2 separate regions of the Homo sapiens genome follow, and region 2 is linked to region 1. The links are contacts of gene promoters, found by promoter capture Hi-C in blood cells and fetal thymus (Javierre and others, 2016). All regions are on one chromosome and are shown on one strand. The core of a region is centred on a gene start or on the middle of the fragment in contact, and the rest is flanking DNA. Distances in the headings are between cores, read along the strand shown.

Region 1 (5,610 bases), core at 1,554-4,053:
TCTTTTCCATAATCACTGATCAGCCCCGCCACATAGCACTGTCAACTGGAAGCTACCACACACCCATAGTAACCCAGCTAATAGCTGTCTTTCTAGATTTTTTTTTTTTCACTGATGTGCACTGTGTTCTTGGCCATAGCCCTAACTTTACATGCTTCAATTTCCTCATTCTTTAAAGGAATTTAATAGCAATCCAAGTTAAATTCTGCATCCTTACAATAGATTGTTATATTAGTGCAAAATATATTTCATCATATGTACATTGAGAATAATTAACTTCTACCTTAGTAATCCATCAAGTATCCAACTAATATTTACTTAATATCTACTCTGTACATGTCATGGTACTACACGCTCATTTTGAAGTTTTAACAACAAATTATATATTACTTGGAAATTTGTGTCTTTCAAAAGCTAATATCAATGGTTATTTCATATTTTAAATGACAAATACCTATTCAATACTTGGGATTCTTTAAATAATAGGAATTTAAATGCAACAGAGGGATAAAAAGCGAAAAATTCCATTCAGACATCAGGTTTTATGAGGACTAAATATAATGTTAGTAATAAATGATGTGGAGTTTCCTTACTGGAAAGTACTACTTATGCCAGGCACGGCAGGTCACGCCTGTAATCCCAGCACTTTGGGAGGCTGAGGCGGGAGGATCTTTTGAGCCCAAGAGTTCAAGACCAGCCTGGGCAACTTAGCGAAAAACTCGTCTTTACAAAAAATTTAAAAATTAGCCAGGTGTGGTGGCATGCACCTGTAATCCATCTGGAGTCTGTGGCAGATCACTTGAGCCCAGGAGTTCAAGGCTGCGTGTGCTATGATTGCGCCACTACACTCCAGCCCAGGTGGCAGAGCGAGTGTCTCAAAAAAGAAAGAAAGAAAGAAAAAAAAGACTAATCATAATAATTCCTCACAAGACACGAAGCATTATCCCGACACAAAAAATGTTTTGGAAACCCAAACTGACCTTTATACAGTTACTTGTAGGATCTCAGACCTTTGAAATGGTCATTTAAAAAAATTATTTATTTATTTGAAATAGTCATTTTTGATCACCAGAAGGAAGAAATCACAAATAAAAAAAGAAGAGGCTTAAGGCTCAGATCTGTAGATTACTTTTTCAGGAACCTGGAGGACAGAGAGCTGGGGAGCAGACTGCAGAGGGACTTGAGGTTTCTGGAGTTTGGACGGCTTACATGTAACCTGGCGACACCTTCACGCCCCAGGGTTGCCATGGCACCACCTTTCCGAAATACTGCTTCCTAGGTACAATATATCTTTTTTTTCTGAAACGGAGACTCTCTCTGTCGCCCAGGCTGGAGTGCGATGGCACGATCTCAGCTCACTGCAACCTCTGCCTCCCGGGTTCAAGCGATTCTCCTGCCTCAGCCTCCTGAATAGCTGGGATTACAGACGCGCACCACCACGCCCGGCTAATTATTGTATTTTTAGTAGAGATGGGGTTTCACCATGTTGGTGAGGCTGGTTTCGAACTCCTGACCTCGAGATCCGCCCGCCTCAGTCTCCCAAAGTGCTGGATTACAGGCATGAGCCACCGCGCCCGGCCAGTACAATCTATCTTTATTATTTTTTTTTTTGTAATTTTTATTTATCTACTGGCATCCCCATGGAGGCCCTTTCTCTCCCCAACTTTCCCTCGTGTGTGAAATAAAGACCACTGAATCTATTAACTTCCCAGGCCTTGAAATTCCATTTTCGCACATACTGCCACCGCTAAACGATTTCTGAATTTTTTGTTGTTACCCCCTCAGCTAGGAGTTCCATTTGCCAAGCATTTTAACAGCAGAGAAGGCAATTCTGTGGGCCGATGCATTTGTGTTTAGCAGGCACAGATATCTCCAAATAACCTTCCTATCTTCACACTGGTGGCTTTTGAATTGTTCAGGGTTTTAGAAATACCATAATCTCATTCTGTTAAATATTAAGGGACTCTTTCGGATTCCCTGAGCCTTAAGGTTACGTTATGCAAATCTGTCCGAGTGTGTTTCCATGGTGCAGAATAAAAGTTATGGTAGGGTTTTTTGAAGCAGCATGACTATAAACGTCACTCCTGTCACTGCCTTTCACAAGAGCCCACTTGCTGTGAAATATTTTGAAAACAGAGCTGAAGTGGAGATAACGCAGTGCACAAACAGGCGGAAATAAGAATAAACCGTGCGTGGCAGGCAGAAACCCGGAGGTTGGCTGTTTCTGGAGGGGAAGAGAAGGCTCTGTAAAGCTGGAGGAGAAACCACGCCGGCCACTGTTTAGGGGCCTCCTGGGGGTCGTTTCCCTTGCCCCCTCGGGTTGGGGAGCTCCTCTAGGCCAAGGAAGCGGCCCCCTAAAACCGCTTCCGGGACTGCAGCTTCTCTCCCCACACTCTCAAGGAGCAGAGCCTTCTCGGGCCACAATTCTCCGCGACCCAAAAATAACTACACAGATGTGAGGAAAAGGGCCAAAGCCTACAGCACAAGGTGGTTCTCAGTTAAAGCCTTATCGCTTACGGCCAGGAAGCTCGAAACCTAACCCAGCGCCAGCCTTTTATAGCCGGTCCCTCGAGCCCCGCCCTAGCAACTTCTCCTAGCAACGCCTCGCCCCGTGCTCTGCCGCCTTATCTGCCTCCGCCAGGCCTTTCCTGTTCCCCTCCCCCAGCCCGCACCGCCCCGCCGCCCGGCTCACTTGACCCGCCCCAGGGGAGGGGAGGGGTGAACGGAAGCGTGAGGGGCGGGGCGTTGGAAGATGCTCGCGTCATCAAGAGGCGCCGGGCGAGTTGCGGCGCCTGGTGTCTCAGAGAGGCTTGAGGTTCGGGTAGTCGGTGACATGGCGGAGGCCGCGGCGCTGGTGTGGATTCGCGGCCCTGGCTTCGGGTGCAAGGCGGTGCGGTGTGCCTCGGGTCGGTGCACCGTCCGGGATTTTATCCACCGGCACTGCCAAGATCAGGTGAGGATTTCGGTTCCTGTTAGGAAGGAGAAAGAGGCAGACAGGTGGCAGCGCTGGGTGCGGAGTAGGTCTGTCCGGGGCGGGGGTACGTTTATTCTCTGGGGTTTTCACTCGTTGAGGCTGAGAGTTCCTCAGTGTTAAGGTGCTTCGAATTGTTACTGAGACCTTCCTTTGCTTTTCTTTTGTGGTGGTGGTTTTGCCTTCCCACCAAGAGGGAGAAAAAAACTGTTACAGGCACTTAGTCCCGCTCACAGTTACAAATACTTTGTTTCTCTTTCTTTATCCGTAAATATAATGGTCTTCTGGCAGTTGGGCCGGCTGATTTTTAAGGCTCCAGTCTTCACCTTCTTACTATGGTTATGTGACGTGTATTTTGTCCACTCATCACACAGCCTTGTTAGCCCCAGCCTAGAGAAGTATGTCATATCCAAACCCAGGCCAAAGGATGATTGGGAAGGAAAATTGATTCTTCTGGTCAGTCGTTGTGACCAAGCATTCACACGTGTGTCCTGTTGAGGGCCTGGGTTCTTAGGGCCTGTTACGTAGAAGTGTTCACTATTAATTTGATGGTCTCATTTGTCCGTGCATATTTGTGAAAACCTACCAGGGACTTCCAGAGTTACACGTGAGCTTTTACTGAACTTTCAAGTAAGTAAGCTTTTACCAGCTATAAGATATTAAACCTGTTCAGTTGTCAAAAGAATTTAGTGGTTTCCCTGAATCTAATTTTAATGTTGGCACTTGATCTAGAACTCTGTTCTTTCCGCACCTCATCCGTGCTTTCCTCGGCTATTTCCTCTGCTTACTATTTATAAGCTTAACAAATGTTAACACTGCAGTCTAGACCAAAATTTTAAGAGACTTGGATCGATTCCGTGAAGAAGCAATGTGTGTTTGCAAATAATACGGTTTTTCACTTTCCATGTTTTCCTTCCTGCTCTGTAATCCAGTCTAAAAACTGTAAGCACAACTGTTTTTGACCATGAAAATAATTGCATTCTAATTCCTTTGAAAATAATTCTTATTTCATGAGTACAGTGTTCTTTTCTCCCCCTCCCCCACCCCCGACGGAGTTTGACTCCCGTTGCCCGGGCTGGAGTGCAATGGCGTGATCTCGGCCCACTGCAACCTCCGCCTCGCTGAGTTCAAGCGGTTCTCCTGCCTCAGCCTCCCAAATAGCTGGGATTGCAGTCGCCCGCCACCATGCCTGGCTAATTTTTGTATTTTTAGTAGAGACGGGGTTTCACCACGTTGGCCAGGTCTTGAACTCCTGACCTCGGGTGATCCGCCCACCTCAGCCTCACAAAGTGCTGGGATTACAGGCTTGAGCCACTCCTCCCGGCCTATGAGTACAGTTTTCAAACTTGCTGACAATTGATCCAAAGTGAAACCAGAAAAAATAGGATCTTAATCATGAGGTATGTTGGAAAAAAGAATTTTTAAATCGGAAGCAAGAAATATAGGCCAGGCGTGGTGGCTCACGCCTGTAATTCCAACACTTAGGGAGGTCGAGGCGGGCAGATCACCTGAGGTCAGAAGTTCGAGACCAGCTTGGCAACATGGTGAAACCCCATCTCTCCTAAAAATACACAAAAATTAGCCAGGCGTGGCGGCAGACGCCTGTAATCCCAGCTACCCAGGAGGCTGAAGCAGAAGAATCATTTGAACCTGAGAGGTGGAGGTTGCAGTGAGCCGAGATTGAGCCATTGCACTCCAAACTGGGTGACAGAGCAAGACTCGGTCTGAAAAAGTATATATAAAGAAATATAAATGAGTGGATTCAGTCAGAAACTTAAGGAACATGACCATAGCAAATATGAATAGAAACACAAAAGAATATTAGTTGAGATACTGGAACAAGTAAGAATAGCTCAAGTTCACACCTATGTTTTTAAAAACAAAACTATTCTGAGACATGATGAAGTTAGTGTTAACTCCCACTGAGAAAATAAAAATCTGCCCTGCTTTTCATCAGGCTGGGATAACAGACACAGATAAAGCCAGCTGCAAAGTTTTTGTTTTTTGTTTTTGTTTCCCCCACACTACACCGATGTACAGCTGCAGAGTTAACAGGAAATGGTGATGTGTCATAATGTCATAACGACCCCCACGAAGGTCTGCTGCTTTCTTATTCACTGAGAAACCTTGGTCTCAAAAACCATAGAATATATAAGAAATTTTGCTGTTTAAAGTTCTCTCAATAAGAGGGAACCTTCCCACTCTTGCCTTGTAGAGAAGCATTCTTGATTTCCAACCCAGGTCAGAGCTTCCCATTAAGGGTTTCTGGACACAACTTTCCACATTTATCTTAAATTTGTAGTTTCCAAGGAAAGAGGAGCCTTCACAATCCAGATCTGATGTTGACGTTTTTATATACAGTCCTGCTTTATTTTGAACCTTTTTAAACACTGCTTGATGTAAATTTCACCTCAACTCCACCCTAGCCCCAAATCTTGTAATGACACTCCTTTCTTTGGGTTGGTGAGATACCCATGACTCCTGGTGTGCAGTTCCCCTCGTTGCAGTGAATCAGTAAGTTTGACAGGTTTATCTCTGATAGCCTTAGGCTGGTTGTGCTAAAACACACATGATAATTTGTGTTTGAAGCACTTTACAATGCACAAATGGTTAAAAGCAGTTAAATTGAGTCTAAATGT
Region 2 (5,506 bases), core at 2,100-4,599, 1.6 Mb after region 1:
TACAGGCACATGCCACCATGCCCGGCTAATTTTTGTATTTTTAGTGTAGATGGGGTTTCACCATATTGGCCAAGCTGGTCCCGAACTCCTGACCTTGTGATCCGCCCGCCCCAGCCTTCCAAAGTGCTGGGATTACAGGTGTGAACCACTGCACCAGCTGTTTAAATGGTTTCCGATTAAATGGTACTAGGAATGGCAGAAGTTGCTTTCATGAATCAGCATTTTTTTTTTTTTTTTGAGATGGAGTTTCTCTTATTGCCCAGACTGGAGTGCAATGGCGCAATCTTGGCTCACTGCGACCTCTGCCTCCGGGGTTCAAGAGATTCTCCTGCCTCAGCCTCCCAAGTAGTTGGAATTACAGGTGTCCATCACCAAGCCTGGCTAATTTTTTTTTTTTTTGTATTTTTAGTAGAGATGGGTTTTCACCATGTTGGTCAGGCTGGTCTCGAACTCCTGACCTCAGGTGATCCACCCGCCTCAGCCTCGCAGAGTGCTGGGATTATAGGCGTGAGCCACCGTGCCGGGCCAAATCAGCATTTTTTAGTTTGGGTTCAAATATACTTCGCCATTTCTGGGCAATTTGGATGGGTATACGAGACCAATAATAGAAAACTTTTTTTATGTCTAGAAATATTTGGTTATTTTTTAATATAATGGAAATATGCTTAAGAAAAATTGGCATCTATAATTAACTAGTATATTTTAAAGTCAAATAGGAGTTTTGAGTGCCAAGTTTAGATATAATTTATTTCCCCTTTTCTCTGAGAAATCATGATTTAATTGATAAGATTTGGTTATGACCTTACTCCAGAGTTAGAACCATTACTGAATTAGCTAGGAGGCCGCCCTTGAGAACCAGACTTTCTAAGTATCGTAATTTCTGGGTTTTTCTTTCATGTTGAGTTCAGTTTAATAATATGGGAGCAAAGGAAGGAATAAAGCAATTCAGTATTGGGTGGACTAGGGGAGCAACAGCAGAATTTACGACGTGAAACTATCATTCAAGCTATCCTAGTCACTTAACAATTTCAAATTTATTAGATATTAAAATGGAGAAGGAGATCTTGCTGGGCCCAGAGATGGTAAAAAATCATTAGAGACCAGAAATAATCTCTTAAGAGATCTAGTTGGGAGTTGGGGAAAGACATAAAGGAGAGTTTATTTTCCTAATCTTTTTTTGTCTTTATTTCTTCAAGATTTTTTAAAAAATATAAACATTAGTAGAGCCCTGTCCCCATCTCAGCAAGCTTTAATTTTGTCTGATTTTTACAATGTTTTCAGTAAATATTTAACATTATTTGTTAATTAAAGGGTCTTTGCTTTCTTGAGGTTATATTTACATTTTTGTGCTTTAAATTTTGGGAGGTAAAATACAGTTTTACTCCCCACCCTTATCGTATGTGTCAAATACTTCAACTGATTTTTTGGAGAATAAACATTTTCTTTCAAACAGATCTCTAGCTGTGCTTGGCCAGCAGCATGTTAGTTGCCATGCACAATACCAGGATTTGATATCTGTTTGAGAATATTCTTGGTCTTGATCTGGATAAAATGACTCATAGAGAAATGCTCTTGTGCTACTTTTATAGCATTCCCTGTATATACAGAAATATGTGTTTATATTGGCTTCTCTCAGAGTTTTAGTCAGCCTTTCTCTGCTCTCCTGCCCCACCTCTGCCCCATAGAAAAAGAGTAACATGTTGTATCAAGATCTTGGTGGGAAAATAAGGGAGAAATAGCGCTTTGGGCACTGTCCCTGCACACATTGGAATGGGGGAGGGGTGGGCATAGGAGCCTAATGATTGATACCAAAAAAAATAAATATTAAGTAAATAAAAAACTTGCCCTGAAATTTTTTTTTAAGCCCCTCAATTCCCAATTACTAAGAAAATTTAGTGAAGAAATTACATCTCATGCTCTGGCCAGTTCCATGTGACATTTAAATGAAAAAGTTCTGCAACTGAATAAGATTTTCAAGTTTGAATTTAAAAAATACCACAAAATGGAATGAAACTTTTTTTTTTTTTTTTTTTTTTTGGAGACAGAGTTTTGCTCTCGTTGCCCAGGCTAGAGTGCAGTAGCACAATCTCGGCTCACTGCAACCTCCACCTTCCAGTTTCAATCGATTCTCCTGCCTCAGCCTCCGAAGTAGCTGGGATTACAGGCACCCGCTGCCACACCCAGCTAATTTTTTTGTATTTTTTTTTTTAGTAGAGACGGGGTTTCACCATGTTTGTCAGGCTGGTCTCGAACTGCTGACCTCGTGATCCACCCGCCTCAGCCTCCCAAAGTGCTGGGATTACAGGTGTGAGCCACCACACCCGGTGGAATGAAACTTTTAACATTATATTGATAAATGAAAATATATGAGGTCTTCATTTCATAGTTGCATTTTTTTCAGAAGCTAAAATGGTGCGAATATCCAGAATAACTTCAAATATAAAATTCTTTTATTTTTAGATTTTTTTTTTTTTTGCATTGTTTAGTTTTTGGTTTCTGTGACCTGATGAATGACAAAGTTTTTTCATTTAACATAGAAAGGTTAACTTCAGGCTGTATGTACAGTAATGTACTTTTCAGAGCATCTTGGTAATTAATGTATTTCTGAAACATTCATTAGTCATTCTAAATTTATATGTAAAATTTGATAAGTGTAATTTTCCCAGAGTTACAGGAGTGTCTCAGTTTGAATTTTTTTCTGTTCCTTAGCCGTATATTTAAGATGAGATTTGTATCAAGCAAAAGAAATGTATCTTATAAATTTAAATACATGCCTAACTTATATGAGAGGGTTTATTATTGCTTACTTTCTCTAGAAACCACTTTTATAAGCTTACAGTTTATATCTCTCTTCTAAATACTCCTTGATAGAAAATCTTGTAGAGCAGTTTATTATACTGTTAATTCTGCAAATAAATGGTAATTTCTCCACAGCATTTCGTGACAGCAGTGTATTTTTTTATGGTTTTAAAGTAAGCATTTTGGGCCGGGTGCGGTGTCTCATGCCTGTAATCCCAGCACTTTGGGAGGCCAAGGTGGGCAGATCACTTGAGGTCAGGAGTTCAAGACCAGCCTGGCCAACATGGCAAAACCCTGTCTCTACTAAAAATACAAAAATTAGCTGGGTGTGGTGGCGGGTGCCTGTAATCCCAGCTACTTAGGAGGCTGAGGCAGGAGAATCGCGTGAACCCAGGAGGCAGAGGTTGTAGTAAGCCAAGATCACGCCACTGCACTCTAGCCTGGGCCACAGTGAGACTCTGTCTCAAAAAAAAAAGAAGAAAAGCATCTTACGAAGAAGAAAAATTGTACTTTAAGTTTTAATTTTAAGTGGACTTGAGATCTTTACCGCTGTATTCCTTGGAGTCTCTAAATATGACTAACATTTCCTACCTACTGATGTCTCTGTTTACATTAATTGGCTTGCTCAAGCTCCACAAGTAGCAACTATGATGAAAAGGTCCCTCCAACCTGTGGTCCTTAATTAGGTTTAAGGTTTAAAAGAAGTTTCAAAATGATGTTTATAAATATCCCTTTTCTCTTGTAAAAAACTGCTAAGATTGTGACCACGTGGTTTCAAGTTAAAAGTAAAATAATAAAGTAGCATTTAAAAGTATTAAAGTCAAAAACACAGTTCAGGAAAAAACTAAATGTGAAAGTGTCTCACAGCTGGAAAGTGGTTTATTGGTTTAGGGGAGAAAAGAGCGAATAATAATTTCCTGTGCTTCACTTTTAAATGCATCAGTGATCAGATTGTCAGAAATACACAAGTACAAATATTGAATCTTTTTAAAAACCTTTAAGTTCAACCATCTAACGTAGACATCCCTTAATAGCCGCCTAGAAGAGAGTGAGTGCATCAAGCTTATGCTTGTCCACGTTAGTTGTAGGAAATTCAATACTTTGCACACCAACTTGTAGTACATTTGTTGGACAGCTCTTAACTTTTGATAAGCCAAAATATACTTTTCTCCTTCTCCTGAGTGTGTCTAGTTCTGATTTCTGGTCTACTTATTCCCTCTTTCACATTGTGACTTAAATAGTTCATTTGCTATTTTTTTCTCTAATCTTTTCAAAACTTGTTGCATAAAACCCCCCAGTGCCCTAGTTATAAAGTCATACTTCTTAAAAAGCAAATTTCAAGTACTTGGAATAGTTCTAAATTTTTATACAAGAACTACAATTGTAGGAGATTGCTTTGAGAGGAGAATTCATTTTTTCCAAGGCTGATGCCTCAGTCACTAATGATCTAGTCTGATTTGAGATTATTTGTTCAAAGCAGAGTTTTAGTAAGATGTGGAATTGAGCAAAGTCACATTTAATCTACTGTGGCTCTACTAAACTAAAATATTTTGAGTCATCTTGAAGCTTTATAAAAAGTTATTTCAAAGGGCATAGTAGAATGGTTTCTACTGTTCTGTTTAGGCACAAACATTTTCTGAAACTTCCATCAACTTTTTTCCCCTGACTGCTGCTTTCTGTCATGTCAGAGGATGAAGTTTTTGCTGCTGCAGCAGAAGTACCTAGAATACCTGGAGGATGGCAAGGTCCTGGAGGCACTTCAAGTTCTACGCTGTGAATTGACGCCGCTGAAATACAATACAGAGCGCATTCATGTTCTTAGTGGGTAAGGAAACTGAGTTCTTGAACTCAGGTTAATGGAGGGCCAAAGTTATATTTCTTTAACATTTTTCCAAAATATAAAATCTTGATTATTGCTAAATTCTTAGATATTTGTCTAGGTAAACTCACTCCTGTGTGGATCAACTATTTTGGTCATTCTAGGAAACTGTTCAGATTAGGATAGAGATATATTTAAGTGGGTGAAAGGGAGAAGAAAATATGTATTGCCTGTGAAATGCTATTTTAGAATGTTCTATGAAAACCCTATTACATTCCAAGGACAGCTTTTGTAGTTAAAAACAAAATAAAAATCATATGATATGGATCACAGTAAACAATGACATTTCCAGTATTGGTGCACACTAACTTTTTTAAGTGAATACTTGTCATGTGCCAGGCCCTTGCTAAGCTTTTCACATAAACAGCCTCATTTAATCCTCACATCAACATCAGTCCTTTTTTGGGGGGTGAAGGGTAGAGACAGGGTCTTACAGTGTTGTCCAGTGTGATCTCAAACTCCTGTGATCTTCCCAGAGTGCAGGGATTACAGGCATGAGTCACTGTACCTCGCCACATTAATCCTTAAAATGTTAGAGTACCCAAAGGTTTGATCCTGGGCCTCTTTATTCTCTATCTACATACTCTTTTTAGGTAATCTCATTCTATACCATGCCTTCACATACTATCTGTATACCAGTGGCTCTTAAATTTAGCTTCTCATCTGAACTCCCAATATGTATATCTACTGGCATACCTGACATTCTCCACTTGGATGTTTAATAGATGTCTCAGTTGTATGAGGCTGGTGTGCAGTGGCACAATCATAGATCACTGCCACCTCTAGTTTCTGGGCTCAAGCCATCCTCCTGCCTCACCCTCCTAAGTA

The links. The method cuts DNA at HindIII sites, captures the fragments that hold promoters and counts their contacts. A CHiCAGO score of 5 or more calls a contact.
Region 2: a fragment that was not itself captured here is called in contact with the fragment with the promoter of SDE2 in region 1 in 1 of 17 cell types (neutrophils); the score reaches 5.7 in neutrophils.

Annotation. Positions count from the first base shown.
Region 1 is chr1:225,996,536-226,002,145 of GRCh38, reverse strand. SDE2 (spliceosome associated SDE2) reads left to right here and starts at 2,803. Exons shown (of 7, transcript NM_152608.4): 1 at 2,803-2,953. The coding sequence starts at 2,834. RefSeq lists enhancers at 1,919-1,968, 2,049-2,148, 2,169-2,318, 2,839-2,948, 4,962-5,051 and 1 more and a silencer at 2,499-2,778. The HindIII fragment of the contact is 16,010 bases long and covers 1-3,612 here.
Region 2 is chr1:224,423,636-224,429,141 of GRCh38, reverse strand. It overlaps WDR26 (WD repeat domain 26), which reads left to right. Exons shown (of 14, transcript NM_001379403.1): 4 at 4,488-4,624. Among named protein-coding and RNA genes, the nearest start is that of WDR26, 8.4 kb to the left of the region's middle. RefSeq lists enhancers at 1-171, 172-761. The HindIII fragment of the contact is 1,029 bases long and covers 2,835-3,863 here.